7 separate regions of the Homo sapiens genome follow, and regions 1, 2, 3, 5, 6 and 7 are each linked to region 4. Evidence: promoter capture Hi-C in 16 types of primary human blood cells and fetal thymus (Javierre and others, 2016). All regions are on one chromosome and are shown on one strand. Each heading gives the region's core, a stretch centred on a gene start or on the middle of the fragment in contact. The rest is flanking DNA. Distances are from core to core; before and after follow the strand shown.

Region 1 (3,501 bases), core at 21-2,520, 730 kb before region 4:
TTTTTAAAAAGGCCCCTAAAGAAAATATAGCTAAATGTTGATAGTGATTGTTATAAAGAACATTTTTCTAATTTTTATAGTTCTACATTTTTAAACTTTTTTGAGCATGTGTTATTTTTGTCATGGAAAAAATGGACACTGTGATGGCCTTTTTATTCACTTCTCTTAGCCTGGTATATGTGGAGAAGAATTGGTCAGCTTATGCAATGTGTAGAAAAACTTTGGGTACTAACAAATAAAACTTTCCCAGGAAACAAGTTTTGAAAATGATTTAACTCTGAGGTTTTAAAAACACTTTAAACATTCCCTTTGCAAAAAAATTCATTGAAAACAAGCCGATGGTCTTAGGAAATATTCAGTTTAAACATTTACAGAACAAAAATTGGATCCTATTTTAAAATCATTCCTTTATAAATAAGTGTCTGAAATATTTTGGAATCCAGCAAATACATTCAAAAGCATGTTTGATTAGTTGGCTTGGGAAAGGAAGAAATTGGGCCTGTAAAACAAACCTTGCTTTAGAAATCCATGAAGTTGTCCCTCCCTACATCAAATTTCTAAAAGCAAGATGCCTACCACGAAATATGTATGGTTTTCAATTTGAGGCTGAAGTTATATAGAACAATGCTGCAAGTAGGCCACCCTGACTTCAAGGTCAGCGAAATTAACATCCAGATTGCACCGTCAAAATTCGTCATCAGCGATCATCATGCGCCCCCTTCTGGCTCCATTACCACACTCTCATTTGTTCCCGTTGCGTTGAAATGAAGGGAAAACAGGCTTTTGGACCTGGGAAAATCTTCCTTAGTTTCTTTATCTGCCCACATTCTCCTTTGTTCCTGTTGCATGGAAATGAAGGGAAAACAAGCTTCTGGACCTGGGAAAATCTTCCTTAGTTTCTTTATCTGCACAATGAGGAGTTCAGATCAAATCTTTCCTAACACCCCTGCCATATACAAAATTCTGAGCTTATTATATTGCAACATAGAATTTTGGAATTGCTCATAGACACAAATGCCTAAGGAACTTTCAGCAAAACTCTGAAACAGAAAAAGTGTTTGAAATTATGTAGTTTTTATCTTCGGCATTTTGAATGTGCATAATCATAATAAGAATTAGTCACAATTGTTCTGTTTCTTCAACTCTGTTCTGCACAGATAGGGGATCACGCTCTTTCAGATTTCAGAGGCAACTTTACAATTATCCTCTCTTTCATCCTTACATTTCTTTATATTTTATTTTTCCACATTTTATACTCTTTATCTTATTTATTTTCCTTTTCATTCTTTGTTTTCTTGTTTTCTTTCTTTTCTTGACTTTTTTTTTGTCTTTTCTTCATTCCTACCTTAGGTTTTATGAAATTAGTTGTCCCTTGGGTATAATAAACACCATAAAAGTACTGGCCCTCTTGAGTTAAAAGAGAAGATATTATTTTTCACAGCCTGAAATTATAACCACTTAAATGTTTGGCAAATTGGCACCATCTCCTGGCCACTTAAAGTGCCATCTGAACTATGTAGGTCCTACAATGCTTTATTTCCTTGCCAGTCATCTGAGTGTTCATTTTGCTCTATTTACCCTAAAAACTCCTCCCATAAATAGATCTGACATTTTGTGAGCATCTCATTCTGCTTAAGGCCTGATATTTACACTATGAAAGTGTGGCTTGGAGAAAAGCTTTCTGGATTTTCCGCTTGTTTTATTTATATAATCAAATCAAGACACCATAAGGAAAAGTCACATGGCTAGTCCTGAATTTAGGAAGCATATGACCCTTCTCTGTTCCCTCTGCGTCCACACATCTAGAGAATTATTGGGCCATTAAGACGGGTTTACACTTCTGGAATATCCACCTGTTTAGAGAGTCAGAAATGTGGGCATAGCTGAGGGGAAGGGATGGTCTAAATGCCTTCTAGGTGATGGGGGAAAACAACTTGAGCAAAAACAAAAACAACTGAGCTCTCTGAAAAGTTCAATAGCTAATTCTCTCAGTCTCGTGGGTCCTGGCATCAAAATGAAACAAAAGAAATTAGAAAAATTATTGGGAAATGAAAACTTGAGGACCTTATTATCTTAGCTCCACAGAAAATACAGGGTAGTGGTATATAGGTTAATTTCATCAAGAAAAGATAGCAAGATTTCTTGAAATTCAGAAAAAAGCTCATAGTCTTCTAGAATAGTCTAGAATTCACATCACACATACCTCTTCTTCTACACAAGCTTCATTACTGAAAAGAATTGCTAAGCTAGATATTCTTAGACTATTTCTCAGAAATACACTTGATAGAAGAAGCGATAGATCGATAACTGTGTGTGTGTGTGTGTGTGTGTGGAGAGAGAGAGAAATAGTGAAAGTTTAATGACAAATACTTTCATCTGGATCTTTCTTTTAAAGAACACATTTTTACCTTTAACCTGCCAAGAAAATGTTCTAACTCCTAGGGGCTCAATGGTTACTTTTGTTTACCAATGTCAAATTCGACATGTGCTTCTTATGATTTATATCTAAAGTCTAGTGCCATGATCACATTGAGAAAGAAAAAAATACCTTTGAAATAACCAGTTTAAGATGTCCCATGCCGCCAGACCCCCCCACTGTGAAACTCTCCATTGCTTCAAAAAGCTGAAGTTTCTGGTAGAAAAGACATATACTCTTTTCTGGAGAAGTAGCCACTTACATTTTATCCATGAATACAAAACATTTTTTTCATAGTTGATATTGTAGATATTACATAAATTTAATGGGCCCTGAAACTACTGGAAAATCTTTAAGTCATGTTGACTGCTTGGGTGATTTTGGATTCCTTGGCTTGCAAATCTCAGGAACTGTTTTAACAGAGAACAGTAGTGGCTTGTTTTGTGCTAAACCACCCCGACAGCAATTTAGTTGTCATTCAGCTACTAAAGCTTTACTTTATGGCTTTGAAAAACCTGGCTTTCCCTGTTCCATTATCTGCTGAGATAAAATGATATTGGAAGGTTATGACCGATGACAGAATGGCTTCTTTTCCCATCTTTTCTAGCCTCCCCATACGTTGGTCAACACGTGCCTTTTCTCGGCACTGAATGTTTTTAGAATGCTTTGCTTGCCTGCAGGCATTTTATGCTTACGAATTTCGCATCATTTCTTAACCTTCTCTGCATCTGCTTTCAGTCTCCAAAGGAGGCTAGAACGCTGGGTCCTCTGAGTCTACAGCTTCATTGCAGTAAAGAGGATGAGGGTGGGAGGGGGAGAGTACCTCTGGGGGGATTCTAATGCTCACATCCAATCTTGAATTGAGAGCAGTTGCCTGGGAAACAAAACCTCAAAAAATCTCATTTTCACATGCATCTTCAAATCTTCAAATGGCAGGACGTACTTCTGTGTTCAAAGGAAGTCCTCCAAGTCTAAGCGTCCAGCAAGTCGAGATTTATTATCTGCCCAACTCATCTCAGGATTCTATGGATATTTTCTATCACACTGGTAATCAAATAAGAATAACATACATGTGTTAAAAACAG
Region 2 (3,580 bases), core at 998-3,497, 840 kb before region 4:
GGCCAACATGGTGAAACCCTGTCTCTACTAAAAACATAAAAATTAACCAGGTGTGGTGGTGCATGCCTGTAGTCCTAGCTACTCTCGAGGCTGACACAATAATTGCTTGAGCCTGGGAGGCAGATGTTGCAGTGAGCCGAGATTGAGTCACAGCACTCCAACCTGAGCAACAGAACAAGACCCTGCCTCAAAAACAAACAAACAAACAAACCAACAAACAAACCAAGAAACAAACAAACAGGAACCAGGTGTGGTCCTTCCCTAAACAGCCACCTAACTAACAAACTTTGGGAACACAGTCCCTGGAGGTATGGAAAGAATACCACCACATCAGAAGCCAAGAGATCAGGGGTCAGCGCTAGTAATTTAATCTGTGACCCTAGATCAAGTTTCTTAACCTGCACACCTCAGCTGGCTTCTCTGTAAGCTGTGAGACCCACCCAACATATGGGGCTTTCTGAATGACTGATTCCCGCGATCCAGGCCCAGGGCATGACCAACGACTGCCTTCCCATCGCTCCCTCTTCCTTCTAGCCCCTGAGCTCATCTGATTCTATGACTTAAAGGAATGGTATAGAAAACTAAATGCCATAGGTATGTAATTTTCTTTAATTTTTATTTTTATTTTAAGTTCTGGGATACAGGTGCAGGACGTGCAGGTTTGTTACATGGGTAAACGTGCCATGGTGGTTTGCTGCACCTATCATCCCATCACCTAGGTATTAAGCCCCACATGCATTAGCTACTTTTCCTAATGCTCTCCCTCCCTCCAATCCCACCTCCCGACAGGCCCCAGTGTGTGTTGTTCCCCTCCCTGTGTCCACATGTTCTCATTATTCAGCTCCCACTTATAAGTGAGAACATAAGGTGTCCAGTTTTCTGCTCCTGTGTTAGTTTGCTGAGGATGATGGCTTCCAGCTCTATCCATGTCCCTGCAAAGGACAGGGATCTCATTCCTTTTTATGGCTACATAGTATTCTATGGTGTGTATGTACATTTTCTTAATCCAGACTACCATTGGTGGGCATTTGGGTTGATGCCATGTCTTTGCTATTGTGAATAGTGCTGTAATGAACATACGTGTGCATGTATCTTTATAACAGAATGGTTTATATTCCTTTGGATATATGCCCAGTAACAGGAGTGCTGAGTCAAACGGTATTTCTGGTTCTAGATCTTTGAGGAATTGCCACACCATCTTCCACAATGGTTGGACTAATTTACATTCCCACCACCAAGAGTGTAAAAGCGTTCCTATTTCTCTGCAACTTTGCCAGCACCTGTTGTTTCTTGATTTTTTAATAATCACCATTCTGACTTGCAGGAGATGGTAACTGATTGTGGTTTTGATTTGCATTTCTCTAATGATCAGTGATATTGAGGGTTTTTTTTCCATGTTTGTTGGCTGCATGAATGTCTTCTTTTAGGTACGAACAGATTTAATGTGTCCCAAACCAAATGATACAGTTTCATGAAATAATTACCCTTCCTACATGAAATGCATCTTAATATTTTCTGTTTTATTCTATTTCATGCTTGTTATCACCCCCAAAATTAATGTCATTGCCCACTAGTAGACTGTGTCTTGGAGTTTGAAAAACTGTGTAGAAGGCCTGCTTTTGTATAGCTAAAACATATCAGTGAAAACAGAACGGAAAATGTTGAAGCTTATGCCCTAAAAATGCTGAACACAGCTGAGATGAACTTCTCTCAAAACGACAAGAACAACAACATTTCTGCTTACTTTCAGGACAGACTTGGCTCACCTCTGAACCCCTGTCCTTTTGGCTAATTCCCATACATCTTCCATCCCCACCCGCGATACCTTGTCCTCTGAAAGCCTTTCCTGAACCTCCGAATCAGGACTTGGTTCCCTTCTACATGTTCTCAAAGCACCCAAGCAATCATCTACATATAGTGCTTAGCACAGCAAACGGCCGATAGTGACAAGTCAATACATGTTAGAATATATTGCCATAGTTTGTTTACTTTTTGATTTTTCCAATAGATTGTACGCTTATTAGGAATTCTTGCCCACAGGGAAAAAATTTCAGGATGACAAGGATTCTGCTTCTGCAGATATTTAAACCACCAGATAGAAATTTTTTTCTTTTAACACTTAGCCGCAGTCCTTTAGGTGTTACAAGGTTAAAAAAAGAAAAACCCAAAAGATGTGTTCTTGATATCAGCTAACACTCCAGTTAAAGGCGAAAAGAGCTAGGCCAGGTGTGGTGGCTCATGTCTTTAATCTCAGCACTCTGGGAGGCCAAGGCGGGCAGATCACTTGAGCCCAGGAGTTAGAGACTAGCCTGGGCAACATGACAAAACACCATCTCTACAAAGTGCACAAACTAGCCAGGCCATGGTGGCATGCAACTGTAGTCCCAGCTACTCAGGAGGCTGAGGCCGGAGGATCCCTTGAGCCTCAGAGGCGGAGGCTGCTGTGAGCTGAGATCGTGCCACTGCACTCCAGCCTGGGCGACAGAGCAAGACCCCGTAAAAAAAAATGCAAAGAGCCAAAGAGCAGACCCCTGGCTGTCTTGTTGTCTTTCCCTCCTAGTTGTTCATGAATTAAGTGCCCAGTGAGGAGACAGCTGCCAACGTATAGGTGAGTTTGCAGTGCAAGCCGAGTGCTGTGAGTTCATGGGCAGGTAAAACTCTCTGAAACGCTGGAGAGAACCTGAATGGCACTTGTATACATTGGTAGATAAAGCATTTAAAGGGTTCCTCCTGTTCTTAGAAAAGGATCAAACTCCTTCGTATGACTTAACGCAGGACAACTCTACGGGACAGTCTGCCCAGGACAATCTGGGTTTGTACCTGTTACCCAAGCTTAGTGATTAATAACGTGCTCTTTCACTCTATAAACAGTCCCCATCTGGAGGATAACGTATATGGTTCACCTGCTTACAGGTCCTATGTGATCTGGCACAGCTGACTCCTCCAGCTCCACCCAGCAATAGCCCACACACTGGCACATGCTCCTTTCTCGCAGCATCACTGCTATCAGAGATCACAATTTTCTTCACTTTGCAAATGGAGAGAATGACACTCCAAGAAGTTCACTGGTTAAGGTCATATGGCAAATTAGGATGGGGAGCAGAGGTTTAAATGGAAGCTGTGATGCTTACTCTGCTCATTTCCACTCATCTGCAAGGCTTAGACTGGACTGCACTGGGATTCCAGACTCACATGCTGCAGGGACATTCTACAAACACTGTTCCTACCTCCCAGAACCCCCATCTGGCTCACTGCCACTTCCCCTTCAGGTCTCAGTTGAGCCGTCACTGACAGCTCTGCGACACCCCAAATCTAGCTGTGCACATAATACCAAGTGTGTCCCCTACTGAAACACACAATCATTCTGCACATATTTGTTCACAACTTGGTATGTGTCAGGCCCTGTTAGAGTGGCTGGGGACACATGTAGGGACAAAATGCCAGCCCTCATGGAGTTTCATGCTAGAGGAAAAAAGAGACAGAAAGGAAACTAGCAAATATAAAACAGAGTTGCATGACATTATAAACTGATACAAAATAGTACAAATATCTCATGAATTCATCACAATTCATTATAATT
Region 3 (3,763 bases), core at 878-3,377, 630 kb before region 4:
TTGTCTAAGAACAAAGTGTTCCTTGGTTTGAAATTTTCCAGATGACTATTTGGAATTTTACTCATTTTGGTGAATTATGTTATATTTTCTTGAAAGTTAGGCTGAAGTTCACTTAACTCTTTCTAAAGACTCAGAGTCACCCTGTTGGCTAGCTCTTGAGAGCATCTACAGAATGGTTTTATGTATGCACATACTTTTTATGGCTTGAAGAATACTTATGCCCAGACCAGTTGTTTGTAAGTCCCCCTCTACCCTTGTGGTGTGACAATAGGAATGGGCAGTGGGAAGCAGCAAGCAGCAATGGGGTAGCGGTGTGCAGAGCCCGTGGCTATCTGTTTTGTAGACTGGTACTTCTTGGATGTTGTGTGAGCAAAGAATCCTGGTTTCATATATACTACCATGCATTACTTTAATTAATCTTCAAAGTGTTTTGCTCAGGCAAGTGGGGACTTATTTCTCTCTCCACTTTACAGGAACACAAATTGATTCAGTAAAGTTTATTTTTTTCTTATTTATTTGTTTGTTTATTTTTTGAGATGGAGTTTTGCTCTGTCGCCAGGCTGGAGTGCAGTGGCATGATCTTGGCTCACTGCAACCTCTGCCTCCTGGGTTGAAGAGATTCTCCTGCCTCAGCCTCCCGAGTAGCTGGGATTACAGGTGCACACCACCACACCTGGCTAATTTTGTATTTTTAGTAGAGATGGGGTTTCACCGTGTTAGTCAGTCTGGTCTCAAACTCCTGACCTCAGTTGGTCCACCCACCTCAGCCTCTCAAAGTGCTGGCATTCCAGGTGTGAGCCACCACGCCCAGCAATTCAGTAAAGTTTAGATTTACTTTGTGAGAAAACACATAGCTAAAGCAAACATTCGTGCAGGGCCTACTTCGTGCCAGGTGTGGTTTTAGGACCTTTATACTATGATTTTATTTCAACATTTTTAGCATCAGCAATCTCATTCTACTAGGTCATGGCAAAACTGGACTAAGAGCTGTGGCATTTTTCTCTGAATCCCATGTTCTTTTCAGAGGGATTACATTACTTCTACAAAATAACACTGTCTTAGTCAATTTAGTGTTGCTATAACAGAGTATCTGAGACTGGGTCGTTTAGAAAGAAATGAGGTCTATTGAGCTCATGGTTCTGCAGGTGGGAAATTTCAAGGGCATGGCGCTGGCTTCTGGCCAGGGCTTTCCTGCTGTGTCATAACATAACAGAAGGTCAAAACTGGGGTAGGCATGTGTGAAAAGGAAGGGACCAAGGAGGGTGACATGTTTTATACCAACCTACTCTTGAGGGAACTAATCCATCTCTGCAAGAACTAATCCAGTCTTGCAAGAGTAAGAACTCACTCACTATCCTGAGAACGGCACCAATTTATCGTGAGGAATCCACCCCTATGACCCAAACACCTCCCACTGGGCCCCACTTCCCAACACTGTCTCTTGCAATGAAACTTCCACATGGGTTTTGGTGAGGACAAGGCACATCTAAGTTGTAGAAAATACCCATAAAAAGCTTGAGAAAGCACATGGATGGATATACATGACTTTGTTTCACCATCTTTGCCCTTTTCTATTGATACAACGATGCTCTTGAGTCTAGAAAAAAGTGCTTCAGGCTGAACGGGTTTCAGATGGCTGTCCACTGGATTTCTGGTTTTACCTTTTATCTCTAATGGGCTCACCCCGCACCTACCTTAAGGCCAGGTTCATCACTGCAAAACACAAATCCAATTCCAAAACACTGGGAAGCAATCAGATTGGATTGTTCTTTTCTTAGGAAAAGAAAGCAAAAACTTACCCCCCCATAAGGCACCACTGCCTAAAACCATCTGTAAGCATTTCTGTCATTTCCTTGGAGGCTTGAGACTCACCTGTGAGAGGGAAAGCATCAACCTCTCCCACATACCCTTAGTTGCCCTAAACGATTCACCCCTGTGTTCCACCTTTAGTAAAAGAAAAGCACGGTGATTACCAGAATTCAGTGCAGAGCCATCCCTTAACAAGCAATGGTTAAGAAACAAGGGAGGGAAGGAAGAAAGGAAGAAAGGAAGGAAGGAAGGAAGGAAGGTAGGTGGGGGGGGGGAGGGAGAGAGAGAAGGAAGAAAGGAAGGAGGGAAGGGAGGGAGGGAAGGAAGGAAAGAAGGAAATGGAAGGAAGGAAGGAGAGAGGGAGGAAGGAAGGAAGAAAGGAAGGAAGGAAGGAGGGAGGGAGTGATGAAGGAAGGAAGGAAGAAAGAAAGAGGGTGGGAGGGAGGGAGAGAATGAAGAAGGAAGGAAGGAAGGCAGGGAAGGAGGGAGGGAAAGAAGGAAATGGAAGGAAGAAGAGAGGGAGGAAGGAAGAAAAAAATGGAAGAAAGGAAGGAGAGAGGGAGGGAGGAAGGAAGGAAGGAAGAGAGGGAGGGAAGGAGGGAGGGAGGGAGGGAGGGAGGGATCAGAAATCATAGCCAGTGAAACCCAGAAAACCGTTAGGCAGGAATTAGGACAATACCTTACTCAGGTTTGCATTCCCAGCATTTAGCACCATATGCATCATGCATCAAAAATGTTGTTGGGTGAATGCTGAGCAACAGCCACACACTGAATAAACCAGGCAGGTTGACGTCACAGGGGAGGGCACAGTGTTCCTGGACTCTGAGTGGGTGGCTATTTTTCATGCCAAGTCATGACAGTAGCATTCAGTGTGGTGGGTAAACACAGTCTTATGAATCTCACTTTTAAAAAACTGGAAGTGCTATAGATAAAAGCTTTCATAATTTTGAGATAATAATGGTAAAAATTATCATTTTTGCTTACTATTTGTGATGGTTAATATTGAGTGTCAACTTGATTGGATTGAAGGATGCAATGTATTGCCCCGGGGTGTCTGTGAGGGTGTTGCCAAAGGAGATTAACACTTGAGTCACTGGACTGGGAGAGGCAGACCCACCCTCAATCTGGGTGGGCACCCAGCTGCCAGCTCAGCTGCCAGTGTGGCTAAAATAAAGCAGGCAGAGGAACGTGGAAGGACTAGACTGCCTGAGTCTTCTGACCTTCATCTTTCCCCTGTGTTGGATGCCTCCTGCCCTCAAACATCAGACTCCAGGTTCTTCAGCTTTTGGACTCTTGGACCTACCCCCCGAGTGGTTTGCCAGGGGCTCTCAGGCCTTCGGCTACAGACTGAGGGCTGCATTATCAGCTTTCCTACTTTTGAGGTTTTGGGACTTTACTGGCTTTCTTGCTCCTCAACTTGCAGATGGCCTGTTGTGGGACCTCACCTTGTGATCATGTGAGTCAATACTCCTTAATAAACTCCCTTTCATATATGCATCTATCCTATTAGTCCTGTCCTTCTAGAGAATGCTAATACAATATTTTTAATTTTTATATCCCACAATAAAACTCAGAAGTAGTTAAGTCAGGCTTAAATGCAAGAGAACGGTTTATATTAATTATTGGCCATAACCAACAAAAAATTTCAGAAAAGTCAGTATCATCATGCTGCCTTTATCCAGCACTGACTTTGTTAAGCCTTCCAGAATCTGTCATGTATGAGATTCAACCTGAAATACATACACGCAACAGGTGCATCTTAGGGCTTTGAGGCCAACTGCAACTCATAGTTGCCAAGAACCACCAGCCCTGAGAAACACCTGAAGAAGAAGATTGGTTTAGTGTTTGGGTCCTTCTATGACCTTGAAGAAAGCACTGGGGAAGACATGATTGTGCCTTCACTGAGTAGCCCCACCAGCCATCACCACTTCATTTCTTACCCACCTTTGTAGTA
Region 4 (3,745 bases), core at 127-2,626:
ACAGCCCATTCCTTCTTTTTTTCCCCACTTAATTCGCTAAAGCGCTTCCTGGGGTAGCCAAAGAGAGTCGAAACTAAGGGGTGGAAACTTCAGCTGGGTTTTTTCCCACCTCAAAACCTTTATTTTCAGTTTTTAAAAGCCACCTTAGCCCGCCATATTGAAACTGGCACGGTTTCTAAAGACTCCTTCCCCGCAGTTGTGGCGCTTCCAAGAAAACACGAGTACGGATCAGGCTCTGGATGAGTGTCCGGCCACCGAGAATCAGCCACTTCCCACCCTCCAGGATCCCCCAGCTCCCTCCAGCCCCTTCCCACCGCCCCTGGTCAAAATCAATAAATACATCTCGCAGTTCCTACAGTTGCATTTTGGCGGATTTCTGCAAAACATACACACACATACACATACCCACGCACGCATATTAAAAAATAAACTCCAGAACCAGCTCAAGTCAGCAATTTTGAAAGGGGGTCGAATAAGAGGAGACAACCGGAAAGCCCCTAAGTGACAGGATATTACTTTAAAGAGAAAATAATGAACAAAAAGACCATCCTCGCTGGAGCACGCTCCAAAACTACTACTGCCAATTTTATTTCAGTTGCTCAGGCAAATGTTTCCAAGGGAGCGATTCCGAATGTCTGCACGATTTTTACCCCCATGCCGGTCTCCGATTCCCCGTCCTCACCATCTTTTTCTCCCACCCAAACCAAAAGAAAGGGGAGACCCCAGCGCGGAGGAGACGCGGGAGCGCGGGGTAGGTAGCAGCGGCGGCTGCGTCGCTAAAATGAGTGCAGAAACGAGGAAGGTGGGCGGCGGGAGGGGACAGGCTGCGCCCGGGGAAGGAGGACACTTTGCAACTCCGGACGGACTCCCGCACGGCTCGGCTTTTCCGAGCCCGGAGACGCAGGCGAAGGGGACCCGGGAAGCAAAAATGACAACCTGGAGCGCACAGAGGAGTTTGAAGCTTCGCTCAAGTGCAGTCGCTTTCTTCTCCTGCCCTTCTCTTTCGCTCCCCTGCACCCTCCCCAGCCTTCCCCCACCCGCCACCTCCAACCCCAGCTCCCTCAGGCTTCCTTCCTTTTTTTTTTTTTCCTTTTTTTTCCTAGGCTGGAAAAAGCCCCTGACCAGCGCACTCAACCTGCGGGCCGAAGGGCTGCTCTCCGGCCAGCCTGGGCGCCGGGGACAGCAGCCGGCGCGGCGTCCTACCTGGTGAAGTTCGTCCTGCCCTCGGCGTGGACCCAGGCCCCGGTCGCCGCCCGGGAGGGCACCGGCCTCGCTCGCTTGCTCGCTCGCCCGCCCTTGCCCGCTCGCTCCCCGCCCGCCGCCTCCCTCGCGCGCCCGCTCCGGTCCTCCGGCTCCCACTACAGCTCATTCCAATATGGCATCCTCTCTGTGCGCATGCTCGGCGCTCTTTTTTTTTTTTTTTTTTTTTTTTTTTTAAGATTTTGTGTGTGTGTGTATGTGTGTGCGTGCGCGTGCAGCGAACTCCTTCAACGACCTTTTCCAGCGCTTGCAAAATTTCTTAAGCCAATTAGCCTGCGGGACGTGATCGGCTCCTTCCCCAGCCAGCTCCGCGCCATTCCCTGCGCCTAAGCAGGCGGGCACCCCCAGGACCCTGGGACCTTCCACGCCCACGCGGCCTCCTCCCCACCGCGCTCCCCTTCCTCCTTTTTGTGAGCTCCCTCCATACATGATCTGCAGAAAGTTCCCATCGCGGGCGTTTCCGCACACCCCTCCGCAAGGACAACTGGGCAAACTCCCGTTTCCCTGGCTGCGGTTCGTGAGCTGGGTTTCCAATGGCTCAGTCGACCGTGTGCACAAACTTGCGCTTTATCCGCCGGGGATCGCTGGGAGCGGAGATAAATTCAATCCCCAGGGCAATCTTGGCCCCGCCCGCCCCACCCCATCCTGTGCTTAAATAGAGCCTTTCTTGAAGCTGCGAACATTTCCAGGCCCCTTGGGCAGGGCTGGAGGGGCCGAGGAGAGCTATTCGAGGGAAAGGTGCCCCGAGGGGCAGGAAATTAAGTTGGGGCTGCCCGGGCGAGCTGCCAGGTAGCCGTGCTCGCCACGGCGTCTCATGGGGCACCTAGCTAGTGGCGGGCCTCATAGGGCGGGAAAAGAATCGTCGCTCACACCCCAGCAAAACGTGGCCCTCGACGGTCCGTTGGAGAGCCCCGGCGGCCGTGAGCCCCGGGCAGGGCTGGACGTCTGCGGAGCCCTCGGGCACTTTGTCCCGGGCGCCTGGGGAGGAACGCGGAGCTCCCAGGGCCTTAGGTGCAACGGCTGCGCAGAGCCCAAACGAAATGTCCCCAGTGCGGAAAAGCCGGTGACGCCCTGGTAGCAAGACCAAGAGCTTCCGAAGAACGCTGCGCCCTTAACTAGGGGGCCTCGCAGAGATGCCTGTGTGGGCCTGCATTGTATATTTCTGCGAAATAGCGAATGGACACGTTTGCTCAGGGTTTTTATGGTTGCCAAAGGGGGTAAAATTACCCAGTCCCCCAAATCTGTGTCCCATGAATCCCTCTCATAGTACCCCTCTCCAGGGGGCCAAGAGGTCCTCCAGGTCCCCGTGGGTTCGCAGCTCCACCCGCCCTTCCTCGCCCTGCATCCCTAAGGAGAGGTGTCCGCTCTGAAGGGCTAGGGGCCAGCCATGGAGTGAGGGGACCGGGGCTGACCACGCGCGGCACAGACAGAGGTCCTCAGGCGGGCCCTCTCCTGGACGGTGGGGCCGGAGCTGATCTAGAAGAAATACGGAGGGACGTGCCGAGAAGCCGCTCTCCTTCGCCGCGACCCTGGAGAGCGCCTCTCCACCCAAAGGATCTGCCGAGCTGAGAGATCCAGGGCGGGCGTCCGCAGCCGTGAGGCCCCCTGCGCCGCCAGTATGGGAAGATCCTGCCTCCTTACACCTTGGAGAACGCTGGGCGACGACTAAAGCGCCTTCCGCCGGCCTGTCACTCCATGTGACACAGGAGCCACGTGAGACCCAGAAGAGTCCAGCGACTCGCCGCGCGGCGCACTTTAAACTCTAGCCTGAGTCTGCGACCCCTCCAGCTCTCCAGTCCCCAGCTGTTGGGGACATCAAGCCGGAGCCCTGGGCTCTCTGCCCTGTGGGTCGCTGAAAGCAGAGACTCCTCAAACCAACCGAACCGGGCGCATTAACCCTCTCGCCTGCACCCCGCTGCCTCCCGGTTGAGCCCCGAGGCGGCTCCAGGTAGAACCTGCTGGACTGACTGCGGCGTCCAGAAATCTGGAGTGTGGGCTCCAGACACTCTCCACGGTTTGGCCCCGGGTCTCAACACCCAAGTCGCCTCTTCTGGCTCCTTCACCACACAGCGGGGCCTGTGGAAAGGGAGGGGCCGAGAGACCCGTCGGCGCACCACTGTCCTCGAGGGGTCCCCACCCTGTGCACTGCTGAAGCGCAGGGCGCGCCGCGGCAGGAATGGCCCCGAGTGCGGATCCCCTGCCCTGAGCCTCCCACTCTTGGCCCGCGCTGCGCCTACCCAGTGGCCCTGGCCCCGCAGGGCGACAGCGGCTGCTCCCTCCCATTTGCGTCCCAGACCGCGCGGCCTCGCTTAGCTCCCGGGAGCCGACAGGCGCTTGCCCTGGTGCCAGCGCAGGGCTTCCCGGGGGCTTGGGGTAGGGGTAGGGGTGCGGGGGGGAAGGGGAGAACGTAATTTCCTTCTGCAGGAGTCGTGGAGACGTGAGCTGCAACCAGCCACCGCGCTCTCTCCAGGCTTGTTTACCAGTT
Region 5 (3,797 bases), core at 174-2,673, 700 kb before region 4:
GAAGGGGGTGCGTGGAGACGAGGAGGGTGTGGGGAGGGGAGGAGGGTGCTAGGAGGAGAGGGGGGTCCAGGGAGGGGAAAGGGGTGCTGGGAAGGGAAAGGGGTGCAGGGAGAGGAGGGGGTGCAGCGAGCTCCCAGCTCCAGCATTGTTGTCTTAGTCTTTTATTTCATTTTAGTCCCTCTGGGTTGGACGAGGAATAAAGTTAAACATACAGGTTCTTCTGAACTGCAAGTTACACCTTAATAAGACTTAGAGAAATCCAATTATTTTTTATTCTGTGGTTGAAGGGAAATTCATTTCAGTGGTCAGAAGAGGGGCTGAGAGCCAGGAGAGCTGAATTCTGCTCTTGTTTCCGCACTCTTCCCTCATTTACTCCTAATGGCTTAGGTGTGGTTTGCCCTGGAGGCTGGCTTTTTAATTCTAGGATCGTTCCAGCGGCTTTCCAGGCTGAAGATGTTCATTCACTGTAGACCTTCCCTTCTTAATTCATCTGCAGTGGATCTTTGCTACCCAAGTTAGTATTAAAAAGAAGGTTAGTACAGAAAAGTCTATCTTTCTAGGGTGTGCTTCCTAGATACATTGAAGAGATTTTAACTGGAATTTATTCCATAGCTAGAGCCCATCCGTGTGTTAATTTTCCCACGTATATTGTTATTCTCAAGTGTGCAGACCCTTCTTCTTCTTCTTCTTCTTCTTTTTTTTTTTTTTTTTTTGAGTGCAGTGGTGCAATCTTGGCTTACTGTAATCTTCGCCTCCTGGGTTCTAGTGATTATCCTGTCTCAGCCTTCCAAGTAGCTGGGATTACAGGCACGCACCAGCACGCCAGACTAATTTTTGTACTTTTATTAGAGATGAGGTTTCACCATGTTGGCCAGGCTGGTCTCGAACTCCTAACCTCAAGTGATCTGCCTGCCTCGGCCTTCCAAAGTGCTGGGATTATAGGTGTGAGCCACCAAGCCCAGCCCCCTTTCCATTTTACTCCAAATAGCCACTAAGAGGGCTTCTACACTGATTAAATGTGTCCCCACATTTACGGGGTTACCACACAGTTTCGGAAAGAAGGGAAGAAGCCCTCTCCATGGTTCTGCCCTAGAAGTTGAGCACACTACAGGGAGCAAGAGCTTAGAGTTGCCCCTGAAGATCTAAAGCACTGGTGAATCGTGTGTAGGGAAGAAAATACAGGCAGCAACTTCGTTCCACTCTGTGGGAAGCTTTGACTCACAAGGTCCATGGAAAGACCTCTGGCTCTGATCCCATCCCCTTTATCCATAAAAACAGTGGGATGCAGGGTCATTTTTGCCAATGTGGAAGTTGTGGCAGGAGATCTGTCCTCTCTTTTTCATCTTTCTTGTAATAATGAAGGCAGAATATTTACCAAATCCTTGGTTTATACCAAGCCTTTTCATTTCTCCCTCTCAGCAGTACTTTAAGGTAGGTATTACCAGCCATGTCTGCAAATGGGGATCAGAGACATTAATGGTAAAACAATTACCAGCAAAAGGGGATTAGAGGCATGAAGTAACTTGCCAAAGATTACCTGGGTAGAGACTGAATAACTCAAACCAAGGTTGTGGCCCTTTTGCCTACACTGTTAAATGGCAGCACTACTGTGAGGGAGGTCTTGAAGTAACTCATGAAGCTTCAACCAGAGCACCTCGGACAGCTCCCAGCCAATGAAAGGAAGTTTCTGGGTCGAGATGTTTTCCGGACGAATGTGTTGAACCTGGTCCCTTAACTCTCTCCATCACTATTTTGACCAGAACGAGGAAGTGGTTTTTTTCCACCCTTCAACTTTTATTTGAAGTTCCGGGGTACATGTGCAGGATGCGCAGGTTTGTTACATAGATAAATGTGCCATGGTGGTTGGCTGCACAGATCACCCCATCACCCAGGTATTAAGCCTAGCATCCATTAGCTATTTTGAGGAAGGATTTTATTTTATTTTATTTTATTTTGAGAGACAGGGTTTCACTCCTGTTGCCCAGGCTGGAGTGCAGTAGTGCAGTCTTGTCTCACTGCAGCCTCCTTCTCCCAGGCTCAAGCGATTCTCATGCCTCAGCTACCTGAATAGCTGGGATTACAGGTGCATGCCACCAAGCCTGGCTAATTTTTGTATATTTAGTAGAGATGGGGTTTCACCATGCTGGCCAGGCTGGTCTCGAACTCCTGACCACAGGTGATCTGCCTGCCCAGGCCTCCCAAAGTGCTAAGATTACAGGTGTGAGGCACTGCACCCGGCCTGAGGAAGGATTTTAATACCTTAGTTGTAAATGTGACTTTACAGTCTACACAGCACATTTGTTCTCAGGACAGCCCTGTTGGTGGATATTATTATTTTCTTTTAACTGGTGTAAAAAAACTCAGGCACCTGTCCAGTTAATTTACCTACCTTAAAAAGCTATTAAATGAAGAAACAAGAATGTACACTTTAGTCTCGTGTTTGTTCTTACCGCAAAACATGGATATACGGAATTCCCTGGTCGAGTCTCTGACGCCCAAGCCATGGTATTGACACAGAGATGACACCTTCCCCAACGTCCTTGATTTAACCAGGGTAAGCTCTTGCTCTCTTTATGGCAACTTGTTTCTTGCATGCCATAGAAGAAAAAATAGCTCTAGTTTATTTTTTGAACAAAATGGTCATTTGCCAAGAAGTTCTCCTGTCAGAAGTTCTCCAGAAAATTCCAAGACTTACCTGGGAACAAAAGAAAGCCTGCTAGCCCAGAAATGAGAATTTTAATTTTGATCAGCTCTCAGGAGATCTGTGGGAACCTCAATTTGCTCGGTGTCTTTGAAACACTGCAGTCTTGTGTATACTGAGTGGGTGGCCATGGTAGTGTGCCATACACAGGTGCAATAAAAAATAGCTTATCAACTCCTGACTTCAGGTGATCCTCCCGCCTCAGCCTCTCAGCCTTGCCAACATGGTGAACCTCTGTCTCTACTAAAAATACAAAAAAATTACCTGGGCGTGGTGGTGGACATCTGTAATCCCAGCTACTCGGGAGGCTGAGGTGAGAGAATTTCTGGAACCTGGGTGGCAGAGGTTGCAGTGAGCTGAGATTGCAACATTGCACTCCAGCCTGGGTGACAGAGTGAGACTCTGTCAAGAAAAAAAAAAAGGCCAAGCACAGTGGCTCACACCTATAATCCCAGCACTTCAGGAGGCCGAGGCAGGCGGATCACCAGAGGTTGGAAGTTTGAGACCAGCCTGGCCAACATGGCGAAACCCCATCTCTACTAAAAATACAAAAATTAGCCGGGCATGGTGGTGCATGTCTGTAGTCCCAGCTACTTGGGAGGCGGAGGCACAAGAATCACTTGAACCCAGAGGTGGAGGTTGCAGTGAGCTGAGATTGCGCCACTGCACTCCAGCCTGGGCAACAGGTTAAGACTACATCTCAAAAAAAAAAGAAAAAAAAAAGGAAAGAAAAAAAAAGCGTATCAAATTGTCCAAGCTGAGGCTTGCTTGACATGAAGGGCTTCTTGAATGCTTAGCCTAAAGACAGCCTACCCTCCAACAGTGGCTATACTGTCATCTGTGACTTGTTATTTGCATCATATTGTGGGGCTTATTTCCAGAGAACTGCAATTTGAAACTCAGTTACTCTTCCCATCAGCTGTTCCCTCTCATCCTCTCTCCAACAAGAAAAATAAGATGGTGTTTGGGGCCTTTCGGGGGTTGGGGGAAAGGGGAGGGAGAGCATTAGGACAAATACCTAATGCATGCAGGGCTTAAAACCTAGGTGACGGGTTGATAGGTGCAGCTAACCACCATGGCACACGGATACCGATGT
Region 6 (3,935 bases), core at 899-3,398, 680 kb before region 4:
TGCAGATGGTGTTGTAACCCAGGTAAGAGATGGTAGTTGCTTAAGATGGGAGGAGAGACAGAAAAAGAGTGGATTCATTTGGGAAGTATTGAAAAGCAAGAAAAGATGGCCCTTGGTGCTCAATTACATGTGGGGGTAAAAGGCAGTTATTCCCAAGCTCAGCCTCGTACTTAAGTGGGAGGTGCTCATGTCTGGGAGAAGGCAATAGGGCCGTAGGTAGGTGAAACTATCTACATTTATCTCAACATCTTGGAGATAAGACAATTACAAGCATACTAGGACATTGCATTTTCTTTCACGTTCAAAGCTGTTGATTGCAACACTGTATCATCGAGAGGAATTAGGAGACTGAATGGACATCTGAGGGTATCTTGATGCAATGGACAGCAGTGCAACCTTTAAGTACACCTGCAATTAATGTATTACAAAGACATTCATAACATTGTAAAGTAAGATAGCAGGTTGTAGAACATGACAAAAGATATGACATAATTTTGGTTTGAAACTTAAGTAGATGTTTGATGACCATAAACAGACTCACATAAAACTACTAACAGTGGTTCCCTTTGGGTGATGGGATTAGGAGGTAGAGAAAAAAAAAGGGGAGCCAAAATAGGACATTCTATTTTGGGAGAGATGCCTAAACACACACATTAAATGGCTTTAGAAGGACTTTGAAAGACATTAAAATGCCCTATTCAGTAATGAGTTGCTAGTATCTTATGTTGCCAGTTTTCAAGTCATTGCTGTAGAGAAGCAGATGGAAATTCCATAGAAAAGGGCTAGGCAGAGAGGTGGTGAACCGAAGCAGGTCAAGCCCTAGCCAAGTTCCCGTCCAGATTCCAGAGAAGCCCTGTGGTCTGGGTGACTGTGCACATCTGTGTGACACACCCATGCAACACTGCTCTGAGTAGAGGGACTCTAGCCAGGTTTGACTCAGGATGCTGCTGACTTTGTTGAAGTCAAACTGTTGGCTGAAAACTGCCTGTGGCTACAGAAGAGGTGAGCAAGAAGAGACAGGAAAAAGACACATTTAGAAAGAGTCAGATCTGGGATTTAGGAGCTGGGAATTATTTAGGAGCTGGGAATTATTATTTCACGAAAGAACTTGGGTTGAAATCATCTCTGGATTGGCAGTGACTTTCAAAACTGCACAATCGACTTAGACATTTCAACAGAGCACACCTTCCTCGTGGGACTTCACTACCTCCTGTTTGCAGCTGAGCTAGAAACACCCAAAGAAATGCTTTTTCTTGCAACATTCTGTATAATTTTATTCTGTTTGGAATTTTCCATCATCTGTAAAGAAAATAAATAGCTTTCTGTGAGTAGTGGGCTCGGGGTAGTATAACTGTAATCAGCCTCAAACCTTTCAGGTTTTTCTGCCTGTCTTTTCATTCCAGTCGGAGGTCCTGGGTTATGAGCATGTCCTTTCTTTGTATATTGATCTTGGTCTGTAGCAACTGGCTGATAAACTCAAAAATCTTGTGTTTATCATCTGCCAGATTTTTTGTTGTGAGGTTTCAATTTCTTTCCCTTTACAAGCTGTTCAAATGTTCTAGCTATAGAGACCAGATGGTTTTTCTATTCCCTTGATGTTTCCTTTATGCGGATGATTGTTCAGAGATGTTCTAAGGCTGTATCAGGATAGGATAGTTTCTATAGTTACTCTAGTTAGCATCACTGTGTGTATGCCTTTGCCAGCACGGGCGAATATTCAATCCATCAAAGTCCGGAAACCACTTCAAATAAATGGCCCTGTGTGTTTTGAAATCGGGTGTGGAAAGCCCAGGTTTCAAGTAACCATTAATAAATAATTACCCTTTTGTTAATGTATCCTGCCAATTCCCTGATAAGAAAGAGCTGATGGATGATGTAGCTGGTTCATAGCTTCCTGTTTATTAGAATGTGTTCGTCTTGTACTTTCTGCAGATGGAAGCTTTCGGGACCACATGAGAAGTGTACTATGTCCACACCACATTTAGTACTTGGTGGGTAATCAAAATTATATAGGGGCAAGGCTTTTCTCCATAAGCTTTAGCCCGGAGCTTAGCCTGTAGATGCTCATTGAACATGTGCTTGCTGTGGAAATCCCTGACTGGTGATGCGGGAGATGGCTTTGGATGCAGGTGATTGACAGAGGACAACAGCAGCAGAAGGGGTGGAATCACCTCATGATCCTGACCTTGTGTATGGCCTGAGATAGCTTGGGGTTCCAGATATAGATAGTGTTCAGTAGTCAGTCAGCAAAGAATATTTCAACAAGCTTGGAGAACGGTACTTAGCTCATACTGACCACTTGCCCTGTGGCCGAAAGCCACCAGGTACACACCTGTAGTTGAACAAGTTGGGTTTATTACAAGTTGCAGTGAGACAGCACACACAGCTTGGGAACTGCAGGAAGTCTCAGAGTAAGAAGATGTTGGGAATGACCTACTACCAGGCTTGGGCTTTGGTTGGGTGATTTTCGGGAGGGTCTAAGGAAGCAGAGGTTTTCTCTAGTCGGGAGTTGCCAGAGGCCAGGGGTGATTCTGTGAGGGGGTATCTGAATACATCTGTCATCTCTAGGGAGGACAGACTAGAGGGAGACCAAAGCTGGAACTGGGAAAGATGCAGCAGTTGCTTACTTAGCAAGAGTGGAAGATGTGTGGGATTTAGCATGATCTGGCCTGAGTGGACATTCTCGGAAATTATTTCTGTCCAACTGGAGAGCACGTGGCTTAGCTGGAAGCATCAGGCCAGCTCATGATAACACGGAGGCCGTGATGTGAGGTCCTATTTGCTCCCTGGCATGGGCAGAAGTTTGTTTTCTTTCTCTGATGTCACTGATGCAGTCCAGAAAGGCGCTAGAGACCTTGCTCCTGATTCCACTGCCTTGCCCTTTGCCTCGTCTCTCTCTGCCTTAAGAAGCATCTTACCAGCTGGGCACGGTGGCTCACGCCTGTAATCCCAGCACTTTGGGAGGCTGAGGTGGGCGGATCACCTGAGGTCAGGAGTTTGTGACCACCCTGGCCAACATGAAGAAACGTCGTCTCTACTAAAAATACAAAAATTAGTCAGGTCTGGTGGTGCATGCTTGTAGTTCCAGCTACTCAGGAGAGGCTGAGGCAGGAGAATTGCTTGAACCCAGAAGGGAGAGGTTGCAGTGAGCTGAGATCATGCCACTGCACTCTAGCCTAGGCAACAGAACGAGATTCTGTTTCAACAAACAAACAAACAAACAAAAAAACAAGTCTTACCTGAGGCTGATGAATACGGAGAGCCCTGTGAGCCTCACCTTCTCTTCAGACAAGGATGGATGGGACCTCAAGGTCCATCAAGGTCAGACGTTGACGGTGCCTCTCCTCTCTGCATGCTGAGAGAGTGACCTGCCCGGGACTCTGTCCGTTTTCTGAAAATTTTATTTCTAATTCATAAATAATAATTGCATATATTATATACATGATGTTTTGATATATGTGTATATTTTGGAATGATTAAATCCCACTAATTAACATATCCAGAAACTCACATGCTTTTGTTTTATGGTACAAACATTTAAAATCTACCCTTTTAGCAATTTTGAAATGTACATTACATTATCATTAACTATGGTCACCACGATATGCCATAGAGCTCAAAAACTTACTCCTTTTAACAAAAACTCTGCACACTTTGACCAACATCTCTTTATCTCCATCTCTTCCCCACAGCCTCTGGCACCCACCTGAGTCCTTCTGAATTGGACTTTTTTAGATTCCACATGTTGGTGAGACCCTGTGGTATTTGTCTTTCTGTGCCAGCTTGCTTTACTTAGCACAACATCCTCTAGGCCCATCCATGTTGTTGCAAATGACAGGATTTAGGACTCTATCCTTTGTTGAAAAATGAAAACATGGCTCTCCTCTAGTCCAGGCTAAAAAACAACCTATTTTTTACATGAGTTAGAATTTGAA
Region 7 (3,961 bases), core at 1,327-3,826, 750 kb before region 4:
TATTTAGTCAGGGGGGATGGGTTTGGGAAAAGGAATGGATTCAGGTGAGTGAGCACGGAGAATTGGTAAGGATACTTGGGCTCCACACTCTCTTCTGAGACTTTTTAAATGGTAGTCAGCCTCCAAGGTGGCTGCAAATAACTGGTCCTCAGTTCCCAGTATTCACACCCTTGTGTTAGTCCGTTCCTACATTGTGTGAGGTTTCTGTGTGACCAATAGCACATGGAAGACCCAATGATATGTCCCTCCTGCAGGTGGATTATACAAGAAACTGCAGGTGGGTTATACAAGATAGTGCAGGTGGGTTATACAAGAAACTGCGGGTGGGTTATACAAGAAACTGCAGGTGGGTTATACAAGATACTGCAGGTGGGTTATAAAACATACTGCGGCTGCCATGTTGGTTGTTCTTACTGTTGGTCTCAGAACGCTTGCTCTGGAGGAAGTCAGCTGCCACATTGTGATCAGCCCAAACAGAGGTTTGTGAGATGAGGAAATAAGCCATGTGAGTGAGCTTAGAACTGGAGCCTACAGCTTCAGGAACTTCATGGCACTGCAGCTCCAGCTAACAGGTTGCTTGAAGCTTCATGAGTGACCCTGCACCAGTACCAGTGAGATTAGCCAGTCTTGTACTCTTGACCCACTGAAACTGTGAGATAACACTTGTTGCTTTAGTTGCTCAGTTTGGGGCACTCTGTTAAGCAGTAATAGATAACTGATAGAATGGCCTATTGTAACCATTCCTGTGCAGAAAGGCTGTCCTGAGCTTTGAATAATTTCTTCAAATCAGTGTGTTTCTCTGAGCCTTAACTCCCATCGGGAAGAGTTAGCCTCCATTATTTAAGGAATAGGGAAGGAGAAGGTGCATAAGACTCAGCAATGTGGGTTTCTTTCTCCATTTTGTCCATTTCCCTCACTAGAGGTTACCATTATCACTTGGTTAATATATTAGTCCACCGGGGCTGTGATATGGTTTGAATGTTTGTCCCCTCCAAATCTCATGTTGAAATGTAATCCCCAATGTTGGAGGTGGAGCCTGGTGAGAGGTGTTTGTGTCATGAGGGTGGACTCCTCATGAATGGCTTGGGCCATCCGCATTGCAATGAGTGAGTTCTTGCTCTGTTAGTTCATGTGCAATCTGGTTATTGAGAAGAGCCTGGCATCTTCCCCCACCCCTTGCTCCTGCTATTGCCATGTGATACACCAGCTCTCCCTCTACCTTCTGTCATGACTGGAACTTTTCGGAGCCTCAGCAGGAAGAGATGCTGGTGCCGTGGTTCCTGGACAGCCTGCAGAACTGTGAACCAACAAAACCTTTTTTCTTTACAAATTATCCAGTCTCAGGTATTTCTTTATAGCTATGCAAACATGGACTGATGCAGGCCTGCCATGACGAAATACCACAGGCCGGATGGCTTACACAACAGAAATTTATTTTCTCACTATTCTAGAGTCTGGAAGTTCAAGATCAAGGTGCTGGCAGGGTTGGTTTCTCCTGAAGCCTCCCTTCTTGGCTTGCAGATGGCCACCTTCTCCCTGGGACCTCATATGGTCTTTTCTCTGTGTGCATTTCTGGCATCCCTCTGTGTGTCCTGATCTCCTTTCCTTATAAATTCACAAGTCATATTGGATCAGGACACATCCTAACTGGCCTCATTTGGACTTAATGACCTCTATAAAGGTGCTGTCTCCAAATACTGAGGTACTGGGGGTTAGGACTTCAACGTATGAATTTTGGGGAGACAGAATTCAGCCCTTATCAGTTAAAATAGTAGATAACACAAACACTCATTGATAGGATGCTTTTCAGATTTGGGAGTTACAGTAAAATATCCCAATATCACATTAAAATTAGTGATTGGATCTCTTCCTTGCCAAGCCCCCATTCTTAAATGGGGAGAATGATTCCGAAAGTTCTTATCTTCTGACCTAGGAGGGGAATGTGGAGGGAAGGATGAAACAGACAAGCCCATCTTGGAAAGAGGGCAGGAGGAGGATGTATCCTCCCAGCCACCATAGTCTCCTGGCCCAATCTTCTCAAGATGCAAATGAACAGAAGATCCCTGGAGCTGCTGAGCCACAGAGCCCAGAATCATCTCCATCAATATTTAAGCAGGAGAAGGTAACACTCACCATGTGTGCCAAAGTACAGCTGGGATTTTTGTTGGGACAGATCAGAACCCTCAGTGGAATACTCTGAAGGCTACTGAGTTCATTTCATTTAGCTCATATAATGTGAACTTGCATTTTATATGAGTAAATTGTGTGGCTTCTATTTATCACAGTAGGTTTTACTGGTAAGGCTTTACAATATTTGTAGGTTTTGAGGGGGATTTTGTAGACTTCTGGACAGAGAAGGGAAGGGATTAGGAGATGACCTTTGTTGTGCCTCTCTGCCAGACTCCAGGGATAACTTCAGGGACAAAACTCGAGGGATAAAGATAACTCTGTGTTTTTGTAGATTGCATCCAAAAAGAAATTTGTGGGCAGAAACTAGGTGCAGGATATATTAATTAATTTACTATTATGTATCATTTGAAGGATCCTATGTGAATCCTCGGGAATCTAGTACAAATATTGTTCACACTTTACATATGAGGAAATAAGGCTCAGAAACATGGGTGGCTTACCCACAGTTATATAAATTAGTGAATGACTTCAAACAGGTTTTAGGACCCAAATCCCATGCCCTTTGCACAACACCATACCCACCCCCCCACCTTACATTTCTCATTGGTGACTTGCCCACCTTGTCCATCTTTTAACCCTCCTGCTGAGTCCGTCTACTCAAACATGAAAACTCTGCTCCCAGATCTCTTTTGTCCTTTTATTAATTGCTATGTTGTCAAGTGTCTTCAGCCCTTTCAGAAAGCAGAATGTTTATTCCTTCAGTCACTCCTCTTCTTCTCTCCATTCTTTTCCTTTCATGGTGGTTATTCTGAAGAATCTGAGATGCCTGCTCTTGACTTGACTGGCATTTAATTGTAGAACATTAGACCTCTGAGAAAGGAACACAGAGATCAACTGATCAAGCCCTTCATGTTGGAAATGAGGCATCTGGTCTCCATAGAAGCAAAGATATGAAGCCTAGGTCTTTATAAAGTCAGAGAAAAACCACAGGACAAGATCATAGTTCTTCTGAATTCGTTCTGTTTTCTTCATCAACTTCTGCTTATCAATCCAAAATACTTGGCATCCTTCTTATAGTCGGTGACTTCCCCTCATCAAACCAAGATACTTCATTTCCTTCTTTTGAAATCCAGGGACCTTCTGCTAAGTGGAATTGGTGTTGCATCTGAGGATAAACACTGACTTCTTTACAGTCTTGTGCCTGTGTGAGAAAATTTCCCTAGGTATCAAAAATTAAGCTAGTGACCAGTGACCCAGTCCAAGTACCATCTGAGAATTAAAAAATAAATAAATAAATCCAACTAATTAACATATTTATTCTATTTAAACACACAGTCATCCTCCATATCTGTGGATTTCACATCTGTGGATTCAACCAAATATGGATTAAAAATGTTTGGAAAATGTTACTCAGCCTCACAATCCTACTCTGAAAATTCAACTGGTTATAGTTTCCATCCATTTCCAAAATTTTCACTTAGGGAAAATATCTGCTAATTCAGCAGAATACTTCTCTCCTTGTGTCCTCACCTTATTTGTGTAGTTCACTCTCCATCCACCCAGTCCGTGAGTTACTAGCTATTCTTGCAATGGTTGTAGTGGCTGGTGAACATTGATCATATTCTCATTTAAGTTATTTATTTTCTCATATTGCCTATATTAACAAGAATTATGAGGAAAGTGATGATTAGTTTATGGTATCGGTATGAGCATAATATTAATTATTACTACGATAGCTAGCACTTATGAAGGAGCACTATGTTCATGGCAGTAGCCTAAGCGTATTGTGTTAATTCCAGTCCTCTAAGGGGATACCACTATTATCCCTGTG

The links. The method cuts DNA at HindIII sites, captures the fragments that hold promoters and counts their contacts. A CHiCAGO score of 5 or more calls a contact.
Region 1: a fragment that was not itself captured here is called in contact with the fragment with the promoter of SFMBT2 in region 4 in 8 of 17 cell types (M2 macrophages, endothelial precursors, total CD8 T cells and 5 more); the score reaches 13.1 in M2 macrophages.
Region 2: a fragment that was not itself captured here is called in contact with the fragment with the promoter of SFMBT2 in region 4 in 1 of 17 cell types (neutrophils); the score reaches 6.1 in neutrophils.
Region 3: a contact is called between a fragment that was not itself captured here and the fragment with the promoter of SFMBT2 in region 4, in 1 of 17 cell types (erythroblasts). The highest score is 5.1, in erythroblasts.
Region 5: a contact is called between a fragment that was not itself captured here and the fragment with the promoter of SFMBT2 in region 4, in 1 of 17 cell types (endothelial precursors). The highest score is 5.4, in endothelial precursors.
Region 6: a contact is called between a fragment that was not itself captured here and the fragment with the promoter of SFMBT2 in region 4, in 1 of 17 cell types (endothelial precursors). The highest score is 6.1, in endothelial precursors.
Region 7: a contact is called between a fragment that was not itself captured here and the fragment with the promoter of SFMBT2 in region 4, in 2 of 17 cell types (M0 macrophages and M2 macrophages). The highest score is 7.7, in M0 macrophages.

The regions. Positions count from the first base shown.
Region 1 is chr10:6,677,668-6,681,168 of GRCh38, forward strand. No RefSeq gene overlaps it. Among named protein-coding and RNA genes, the nearest start is that of LINP1, 58 kb to the right of the region's middle. RefSeq lists an enhancer at 463-964 and a silencer at 624-782. The HindIII fragment of the contact is 809 bases long and covers 867-1,675 here.
Region 2 is chr10:6,571,615-6,575,194 of GRCh38, forward strand. All of the region lies in intron 1 of PRKCQ (protein kinase C theta), which reads right to left. Among named protein-coding and RNA genes, the nearest start is that of PRKCQ, 6.9 kb to the right of the region's middle. RefSeq lists an enhancer at 396-565. The HindIII fragment of the contact is 1,165 bases long and covers 1,666-2,830 here.
Region 3 is chr10:6,776,623-6,780,385 of GRCh38, forward strand. It overlaps LINC00706 (long intergenic non-protein coding RNA 706), which reads right to left and starts at 2,558. Exons shown (of 2, transcript NR_108074.1): 1 at 2,489-2,558. LINC00707 (long intergenic non-protein coding RNA 707) reads left to right here and starts at 2,976. Exons shown (of 5, transcript NR_038291.1): 1 at 2,976-3,265. The HindIII fragment of the contact is 1,230 bases long and covers 1,513-2,742 here.
Region 4 is chr10:7,409,658-7,413,402 of GRCh38, forward strand. SFMBT2 (Scm like with four mbt domains 2) reads right to left here and starts at 1,377. Exons shown (of 21, transcript NM_001387889.1): 1 at 1,204-1,377. RefSeq lists a silencer at 1,251-1,390 and enhancers at 1,626-2,546, 2,547-3,466. The HindIII fragment of the contact is 4,872 bases long and covers 960-3,745 here.
Region 5 is chr10:6,712,237-6,716,033 of GRCh38, forward strand. No RefSeq gene overlaps it. Among named protein-coding and RNA genes, the nearest start is that of LINP1, 23 kb to the right of the region's middle. The HindIII fragment of the contact is 428 bases long and covers 1,210-1,637 here.
Region 6 is chr10:6,728,386-6,732,320 of GRCh38, forward strand. No RefSeq gene overlaps it. Among named protein-coding and RNA genes, the nearest start is that of LINP1, 7.0 kb to the right of the region's middle. The HindIII fragment of the contact is 231 bases long and covers 2,034-2,264 here.
Region 7 is chr10:6,654,241-6,658,201 of GRCh38, forward strand. No RefSeq gene overlaps it. Among named protein-coding and RNA genes, the nearest start is that of LINC02648, 38 kb to the left of the region's middle. The HindIII fragment of the contact is 3,991 bases long and covers 582-3,961 here.